Regions from separate parts of the Homo sapiens genome. Here regions 1 and 3 are each linked to region 2. Evidence: promoter capture Hi-C in 16 types of primary human blood cells and fetal thymus (Javierre and others, 2016). All regions are on one chromosome and are shown on one strand. Each heading gives the region's core, a stretch centred on a gene start or on the middle of the fragment in contact. The rest is flanking DNA. Distances are from core to core; before and after follow the strand shown.

Region 1 (2,700 bases), core at 154-2,653, 620 kb after region 2:
CAAGGTCAGGAGTTTGAGACCAGCCTGGCCAGTATGATGAAACCCTGTCTCTACCAAAAATACAAAAATTAGCCAGGCATGGTGGTGGGCACCTGTAGTCCCAGCTACTCAAGAGGCTGAGGCAGGAGAATCGCTTGAACCCGGGAGGCGGAGGTTGCAGTGAGCAGAAATCATGCCACTGTACTCTAGCCTGGGCAACAGAGCAAGACTCCATCTCAAAAAAAAAAAAAATTTACTCAGGTTTTTTTACACATAAAATCAAAACAAAATGATTGCCTAAGGAGAAACCGGATTTTTAAGAGTGATTGACGAGCAGCCAGAGTCCAGAGGGCATGGGACATAGGCTAGGTTAATTTTGCTGGAGACAGATTAACAGCAGGGAACTCAGGGGGAGAATGGGGGAGGATCAGCCCCAGTGGACATCCCAGGAGGAGTACCGTGGATCAGGAGAGAGGTTTGGGGCTGGAGAGGGGGAAGAGGAAGGGCACAAAAAGTGCAGGGCAAGGTAGAGAGGAGGAATCTGCAGACGGCTCTGACTTTTTAATCCTTGGATATTGCCTTGAGGGAAATAAAGGAGGATGGCTGCAGTGCTTGCTCATTTCAAGGGCACTGGCTCAGTGGAGTGCTGCATGGAATATACTAAGCACATGGCTGTGTGAGACACCAAACACTTCCTTTCAGAAAACCTCCAGTGCCCAGCCCCAGAGTTTACTGAGGAAGTAACTAGACAGAATGTTCTTTACAGCCAGTTTTCAGACACTCACAGGCCGGGGTCAGCTGTGGGGCTGGCTTTGTCTGGTGGGGATGGTGCTTTGGCCACAACTCAAGTGTAAGGTGGGCTGCTGTGGTCTGCCTTTGCAGTGTAAAGTCTCTGGAGAATGCGGGACAAAAAACAATTGGCAATTTGCAAACTGTTAATTAGCTAAGCAGACTCCTAAAGGCCAATGATTATAGGAAATAACTTACTTGGATACCCAAATGAACCACGGAGAATCAAGTGCTTGCCTCAGAACTGAGTGACTCTCCTTGTTCGCATCTTCCTCTGTTCCTCCCTCCCCCTCTCTCTCATTCTCACCTCTTTCCCTCTTTCTGCCCTGCTATTTCTGACAGTTTCTCTCTTCTCTCATTTATTGTAGCTCTCATCTTCCTATCTTATGTGTGCTCTCCTCCTTTCTCTCTGGAGAGAGAAATATTATGTACCTACAAAGCAGGTTCATTTCATTCCTCTAATAGACTTTGTGTTCATTTTTTAAAATTTAAAAATTAGATGGTGATCCTCCTTATGTCAGTACTAGGAATCTGCTCACTCTGAATGCTAGTATCCTGATAGTACTTTGTCCTGGGGACAAAAGTGGGGATGGGAAGTACAGGCCAGCAACAAGTACTTTCACCTGATCTGTAGAATAAGGGATGGTTTAAAAAAGGGAGAATCTGTTCATGTATTACTTGTGTAATTGAATATAAATAAAAAGGAAATGTCATTAAAAAATCAGATGAGCTGAATATTTTATGTTGTTCTTTCTCTGAAGAAGTTCAAGCCAGCTAAATGCAGTTGCTTTTACTCAAATTGGGCCTTGTTTCCTCCCAGAATCTATGATATGGAATAGAAAAAGTAATTTTAAAGTTTATCGGCTGGGCAGTGGCTCACACCTGTAATCCCAGCACTTTGGGAGGCCGAGGTGGGTGGATCACCTGAGGTCAGGAGTTCGAGGCTAGCCTGGTCAACATGGGGAAGCCATGTCTCAACTAAAAATACAAAAATTAGCCAGGCACGGTGGCACATGCCTGTAATCCCAGCTACTCAGGAGGCTGAGGCAGTAGAATCGCTTAAACCCGGGAGGCAGAGGTTTCAGTGAGCTGAGATCGTGCCACTGTACTTCAGCCTGGGCGACAGAGTGAGACTCGGTCTCAAACAAATAAGTTTATTATGCTTGCTATAATAGACTACAAAATACAAGATATTCTGGTCCTCACATCTAGTGTGCCTTTTGGGCTGGATTTTAGAAGAGACTCTCTCAGCTGCAAGAGTCTGGGTATTAGGTAGGCAGTTGGCAGAGTGGGATCTGGAGTCAGTCTTATTTGTTGATCATAGTTGGGATCTTCAGGCTGTGGCTAAATGGAAGGGTGGTTGGCCTGGGTTTGGGCAACTCTGGATGTCCCTTTGAGATCAGAAGTAATGAGAAGGCTTCTGACCACAGAATGTGTTCTGCTCATTGGAGGATGGAAAGTATTTGATGTCCTTTTGCTGATCATACAAACAGAAAAGTCTTAGGGCCAAATTGGGAACCCACGCAGAGCAGGAGACTGGGTTGTCCTTATGGGCAAGGAGAGGCCAAAGGTTACCATTCCCATTTACCTTGAAGGAGGTATGTTCTGGGAGCATTATAAACCTTGATGGTGTAAAAATGAGAATATGATAAACAGATTAAGTAGACAGAGAGAAGGATGGGAGAAGGAGGAGGAAGTAAAAGTGTTCTTGTCTTCTGATATTTCCAAGAAGGTGAGCAACAGACATTGCTTCAAGTCAACATGTAAGTAATTAAAGGCTGTGTGTCATTTAAAGTGTAACTATATCTGCAGAAGAACTAAAAATAGCCAACCAAATATGAAGGTAGAAAGAGGAAAGAGATAAAAGAGAGAGAGGTTTGTGGCTCAGGTTGCAGAGGAACACATTTACTGGGAGATGCCAGGTCCTTGTGT
Region 2 (2,700 bases), core at 197-2,696:
GTGAACGCAGGAGACCGTACAAAACACGGGGAGAGAGTTGGAGGGGCTCACGAAAGATGGGGATGGGGATGGAGGAGAAACCAAGGCGTGGGAGACCACGATGGAGAGAGAAGCACAGGCCAGCGAGAAGGGTGAAAGGAAGAGGTACAATCTGCGAAGGCGGGGTGGGGGTGTGTTTGGGGGAGGCAGAGGGGGGCGGGGGTAGTGGATAGCCTTAAAATAGGGCTAGTGCGAGGCTGCGGCTCGGGGCGGGACAGGTGAAGGGCAGGTGTAAGGTGGGCCGGGTCAGGCCTCTCTCACCGCCACTTGGTCCTCCGGTTTTGGAACCAGGTCTTGACCTGCGCGTCCGTCATTTTGAGGGACTTGGCGAGCGCCGCCCTCTCGGCAGAGGCCAGGTACTTCTGGCGATGGAAGCGCTTTTCCAGCTCGCAGATCTGCACCCGGGAAAAGGACGTGCGCGGCTTCTTACGCTTGGGCGGCGTCCGGTTCTGGTAGGGGTGGCCGATGCGCCGGGTCACGGTGAAGGGCGTGAGTGCGGCCGCCGCTGCGGAGACACAGGAGGGCCCCTGAAGCCCAGCCCGGCTCCGCCACCGTTCAGGCCCCATGCGGACCCCGTGGCGCCCCGTGGGACACGGAGAGCTCCGCTATTTCGCTGGTCGCGCGCGTTTCCAGAGACACCAAGCCGGTCGGGAGACCCCCTCGCCCCCTGTCCCTTCCCCCGGGCACGGGCTTATTTTCCTGCAACTCTCCGATTACCCTCCCCACCACGGCTGCCCGGGGCCCTGGGGCCGAGGCCTCCGCCGCGCTTGGGCCTCTGAAATGGTTTCCGGGAGTGGAGCGCACAGGGCGCGGCGCCTCTGGCCCCGAGAGGGCGGAGGCCTGGAGCCTGGTCGCCAGCTCTGCTCACCTGTGAAGCGGTCTTTCACGAAGCGGCGGCTGCTCTCCATCCAGGGGAAATTGAGACCGCCAAGGCTGGAGACCGTGGGCACGGAGGGCATGGCGGGTAGCGCGCTTGGCAGAGGCGGTGGCACGGCCCCGGGCAGCGGCCTGTGCGCCGGCACCCGGATCACGCCTGCGGGCGCTAGGCTCAGGTTCACACTGTAAGATCCCGCGTCCTCGAAGGGCGCGCCGAGGCCCGCAAAGGAGGCGGGCAGAGACGGGTATGTGGCGCCCGGACGGCCCCCGGGGGGCCCTCCCAGGTAGCTGGCGCCGTCGGGGCCCCGCGGGGCGGGTGCGCTGTCCTGGTCCGGGCTGTTAAGGATCTGGTCGATGCCGAAGCTGATGGGCTCGTGCGGGTGCGGGGTCTGCGCGCTGGCGGGCGCCTCCATCCTGGGCGGGCGGAAGGGCTGGGCTGGGCTGGGCGGGGAGGCGGCTGGGTCCCCGTTACGGCGCGGCCATGGAGCGCCCGGCGCCTCTCGTCGCACTGAAACTTTGCCAAGAGTGCGCGGGCCCGACAGGCTCTGTGTCATCTTTCTTGAACCGAACCTGGAGTTTCCGCTGCTAATTCCTCTCCTGCCGCAGCCATTGGCTGCGATCAACAAGCCTCTCTCCTCTCATTGGCTCCCGGCTTTCAATAAAGGCCTAATTCATGGAAATAGGAGCTTAGGGACTGTTCCAAGGTGACATCATTTTAACAAACGAACAATAGGTCAAATTTATTAGCAGGGATAATGGGCGGCGGATATTAGAGCCCGAACCACAGCCTCCCAAACCCGAAATCTAACGAAGCTGCAATTAGCAGACGCTCCCCGCTCCTCCGGGCCGGGCCGCTTCCCAGACACCGCGCTGGGTGGGTAGAGCGCTCCGCTTGTGAAATTGTCTTTTGCTGAGTGGGTTTTCGTTTTCTTCCAATTTTTTTTTTTTTTCATCTGAGCAAAAGCCAAACCAAATGCATCCTTTCAGGTACAATGGAGTTGCAACCCCGGGACGACCCGGCGGAATCCGCAGAAGCCCCTTGGACGCTACCGCCGCCGGAGGAACGAAAGGGGCGCACTACCCGGGGCAGGCTTCGCGCTGCCTGCGCGCGGGGCGAGGGGAGCACCGTAGCGTTCTCCGCGCCCCGGATGACGCCGACCCGCGTGGGGAGAATTCGCCCCCGCCCGGGTTTCGGCCGCGGCCTCGCGGCCACTTTGGAGACACTCCCTGGCTCCGGCCAGGCGGACCGAGGCGTGACTCGCAGGTGCCCACGCGTGCCAGCTGCGGCTGGGCTAGGGACGCGGGGTCGCCCGGTGGGGAGCGGGGACCTGACTCTCGTAATTCGTTGCAGGATGGAAGGGGGCTGTGGTCGCGCGTGGGAACCCGCTCGCGGCTCGGCGGGTCTAGGGACTTCGGGTTCCTGAATGTCAAAGGCGCGGGCAGCTCCTAGAGCAAATTGCGGGATTTCTTTGGGAAACGCGACTGGTGAGCCCTTCCCGGCTCCAGTCCACTTTGGGCGCTGGAACCACTCCCCGTTCTGCTCGCGCCTCAGTGACTGTCTACCCGGCCCAGGGCACCGTGGACAGGACCGCACACGAAGTAGTCACCTTCCGCTGCAGCTTTGGGGAGACAAGCGGAATCATTTTCTTCCAGCGAATTCTAAAATCGTTAGGTGCAAACTCTTTGAGTGTCGCACCCCTGGCCTGGGTTCTTCCTCCCGCTCCTTGTGGTGTGGACAGTGGTGAGAGCTCGGATGTGCTGTTGTTGGCCAGAAGTGTGTTCAAA
Region 3 (2,700 bases), core at 89-2,588, 560 kb after region 2:
GTGGTGAGAGGCTCTCTCTTGCTAGAGTGGTGCCTGGGGCAGGGCAGCACTGCTGCAGCGGGAGCTTCTAGTGCAGCGGGCTTTGGCCCACATGCCCCCATTTAACAGCTTTGTTTACTTGGGTGGGTCCCCCAAGCAGACGCTCTGGGAAGGCAGCCAGTTCAGGTTTCTTTTTCTTCAGGGAAACCAGACCTGTCTTTGGCTGAAAGTCTCTCTGGTGTGCTGCCAACACCTCCAGGCTGTCTGGGGGGCTGAGTGCCTGAGTGAGAGTTGATGAATGGCCTCAGGTCAGAGACATCTGCCAACGAGTGAGCTGAGGGAGCCTTTTGTTCATTTCCTGGGAACCTGCGGGAAGTTGGGGCAGGGCGCTGCCCACCCAGTGCAGGCTGGGCCCTCAACATTCCCTTCTCCATGAGCCTCACAGGGTCACTTTCTGGGCCTTTACTCAAGCTGCTGGAACTCAGGGAGCCCCTTTACTTGCTTGGGGGTGCATGGTAGGTGTTTGGGGGTGTTCCTTCACAGATTCTTAAAACTCAAGAGGCTCACAGTCTCTCCTCTGTGGAATGTGGGCCTCCTCCTACCCTCAATCTACCTGGGAAGCAGAGTGGGGAGGAAAATGTGGGCCCGTCCCGGGTGTCCTAACTCATCCTCTGTAGAGGGACCCTCCTCCTTGAGTATCTCTCTCACCCAGGGTGTGGCATCCCTTGGTCCCGAGGGTCCTCAGAGGGTTAAAGCGTTGAACAAAAAGAGCCCTTCCAGATGGGCTGTGCCGTAGCAGCTGTCGTGAAGGGCCCCGCCAGCCCCCGTGGGCCTCTGGACACAATCATGACTGTATCTGGCTGTGTCTGACTCCAATCAGATGAGCTTCGACGTGAGGCATGTGGCTTCCTTCCGGCAATGAACTGTCTGGGGTGAATGTGACCCCCACAGATGTCTGTCTGCCTGCCTCCCTCTCACCTGGCATCTCTGGAAGGAATTTCTAATAGCAGCCTGACCCCATGGGTGAGTGTGCTCCTGGGGGTCAGGACGGTGATCTTACAGAACCTAATGAGGGGGCAGGTGGGCACGGGAAACAGCTGGATGCCTGCAAAGATGATCCTGGGATGAGTACCCTATTCTCACTTGGCATAGCAGGCACAGAGGCAGAGCAGCCCTGGTTCACCCAACCCTGCCACAGGCAGCCATGTAAACTTGAATAAATAAATCCCTTTGCCTCAATGAGCCCTTTCTCATCTGTAAAAGGGGATAATATGTTGCTGAGTTGCCGTGGGTCTTAAATGAGAGAATGCATGTGAAATACCTGGAAAATACATAAGAAATATAAGTAGTTATTCCAGAATAACTAATAATAATACTAAATAATATTGACCTTTCCATCCGACACCAGCTTATTCTGAAAGAATAAACAGGTTTACTCAGGGCGCAGTACCTCTGGGCGAGTCCTGAGCCTGTCCCAGCCTTTCCTGGGCCGTTTCTCTGATGTGTCCCCTGGTCTGGCCTCTGTTTGACTCAGCAGGGGACACTGCACTCTGTGTTTCTGACTCCCAGACCTCTCTCTGGGAAGAAGCCCCTCAAGCGTACAGCTCTATCACTAAAGGCTGCAAGCTGCGTTTCCGATTTCTGAGCGAGCACAGCTGGCATCTGCTCTCCTTCTTGAGCCTGTTGGACTCCTCACCCTCTCTACTTAGCTACTTTTGCTTACAATGCTTGAGCATGGACATCTAATCCTTACTGTCTTGTGGCTCAGGAGGCAGAGTAGTAGCATGGTGCTACTAGTGTGCTTTGGACCTAGATGGATGGTTTGGGTTCAAGTGCTGGCTCCATCATCAGCTCACTCCACTGGTGACATGGGGCAAGTGTCTTCACCTCTCTGCCTTAATTTCACCCTTTCTGAGTTGTGGACATGATCATCTTTCCTATCTACTTCAGGGCTATGGGGAAGATGAGATGAGCTATAGACACACAGGACTCAGAACAGAGCAGGGAAGAGGGGAAGAGATTCATGGCTTTTAATTGTTAGCAAGACCTTAAATCCTATGGGTCTGCCTAGAAACCATCTGGGCTCTGGGCAAAGCCTGGGAGAGGGGGTAGACAGCTGTTCTAGTTCCTAGATATGAGAGCTAGAGCTAGGGTGACGGTAGGAGGGAGGAAGAAAATGAACATTTCTCGATGCCTGTTGGGTGTCAGCCTCCTAGGTGTTTGCCCTGTGTTTATTCCCTTCCCTTGGTGAGAACCCTCAAAGGATGGGGCAAAGGATGTGTTTTGACTCTACGGCCAAGGAGGAAGCCGGATAAGGCAGCTGAGACACCTTGCCCAGTCTCAGTTAGCACATCATGAGTCAGGGTTCAATACCAGGTGTGTCTAAAAAGCCCATTCTTCCCTCATTACCATTCACCTCTCCCTATTGGCTGAAACTGTCAGTTCTGAAACAGAAGGGGGACTGTTATTCCAGACCTATTCACTGTCTCCTTGTTTGGACATATTTTAAGAGCCGCCCTAAGCGATTATGTGACAACTTATAAAAACTAAATACAAGTTCCTCATCGCAAACGTTCCAAACTGCCCTGGCAGCTTTCAGGTCAACTTATTAACCTGCTGAGGGTGGTTCTGCCAGCAATCTGTCCCTCTGTTGACCTGGGGACTTGATTGCACATGTCTGTCATTTATGGCCACAACAAAGTTAGAAAGACTCGTGGCTGG

The links. Contacts are between HindIII fragments. The CHiCAGO score rates a contact against its expected background, and 5 or more counts as called.
Region 1: a fragment that was not itself captured here is called in contact with the fragment with the promoter of TLX3 in region 2 in 1 of 17 cell types (M1 macrophages); the score reaches 5.2 in M1 macrophages.
Region 3: a contact is called between a fragment that was not itself captured here and the fragment with the promoter of TLX3 in region 2, in 1 of 17 cell types (M0 macrophages). The highest score is 6.6, in M0 macrophages.

What each region holds. Positions count from the first base shown.
Region 1 is chr5:170,684,717-170,687,416 of GRCh38, reverse strand. The region is part of intron 1 of KCNIP1 (potassium voltage-gated channel interacting protein 1); the gene reads right to left. Among named protein-coding and RNA genes, the nearest start is that of KCNIP1-AS1, 4.6 kb to the right of the region's middle. The HindIII fragment of the contact is 6,169 bases long and covers 1-2,700 here.
Region 2 is chr5:171,307,994-171,310,693 of GRCh38, reverse strand. It overlaps TLX3 (T cell leukemia homeobox 3), which reads right to left and starts at 1,446. Exons shown (of 3, transcript NM_021025.4): 1 at 908-1,446; 2 at 301-544. The coding sequence starts at 1,328. RefSeq lists enhancers at 1-183, 184-1,068, 1,069-1,954, 1,955-2,700. The HindIII fragment of the contact is 15,951 bases long and covers 1-2,700 here.
Region 3 is chr5:170,749,917-170,752,616 of GRCh38, reverse strand. All of the region lies in intron 1 of LOC107986473 (a long non-coding RNA gene), which reads left to right. LOC107986474 (a long non-coding RNA gene) reads left to right here and starts at 211. Exons shown (of 2, transcript XR_001742977.2): 1 at 211-494; 2 at 860-1,218. RefSeq lists enhancers at 1-520, 521-1,405. The HindIII fragment of the contact is 3,196 bases long and covers 1-2,700 here.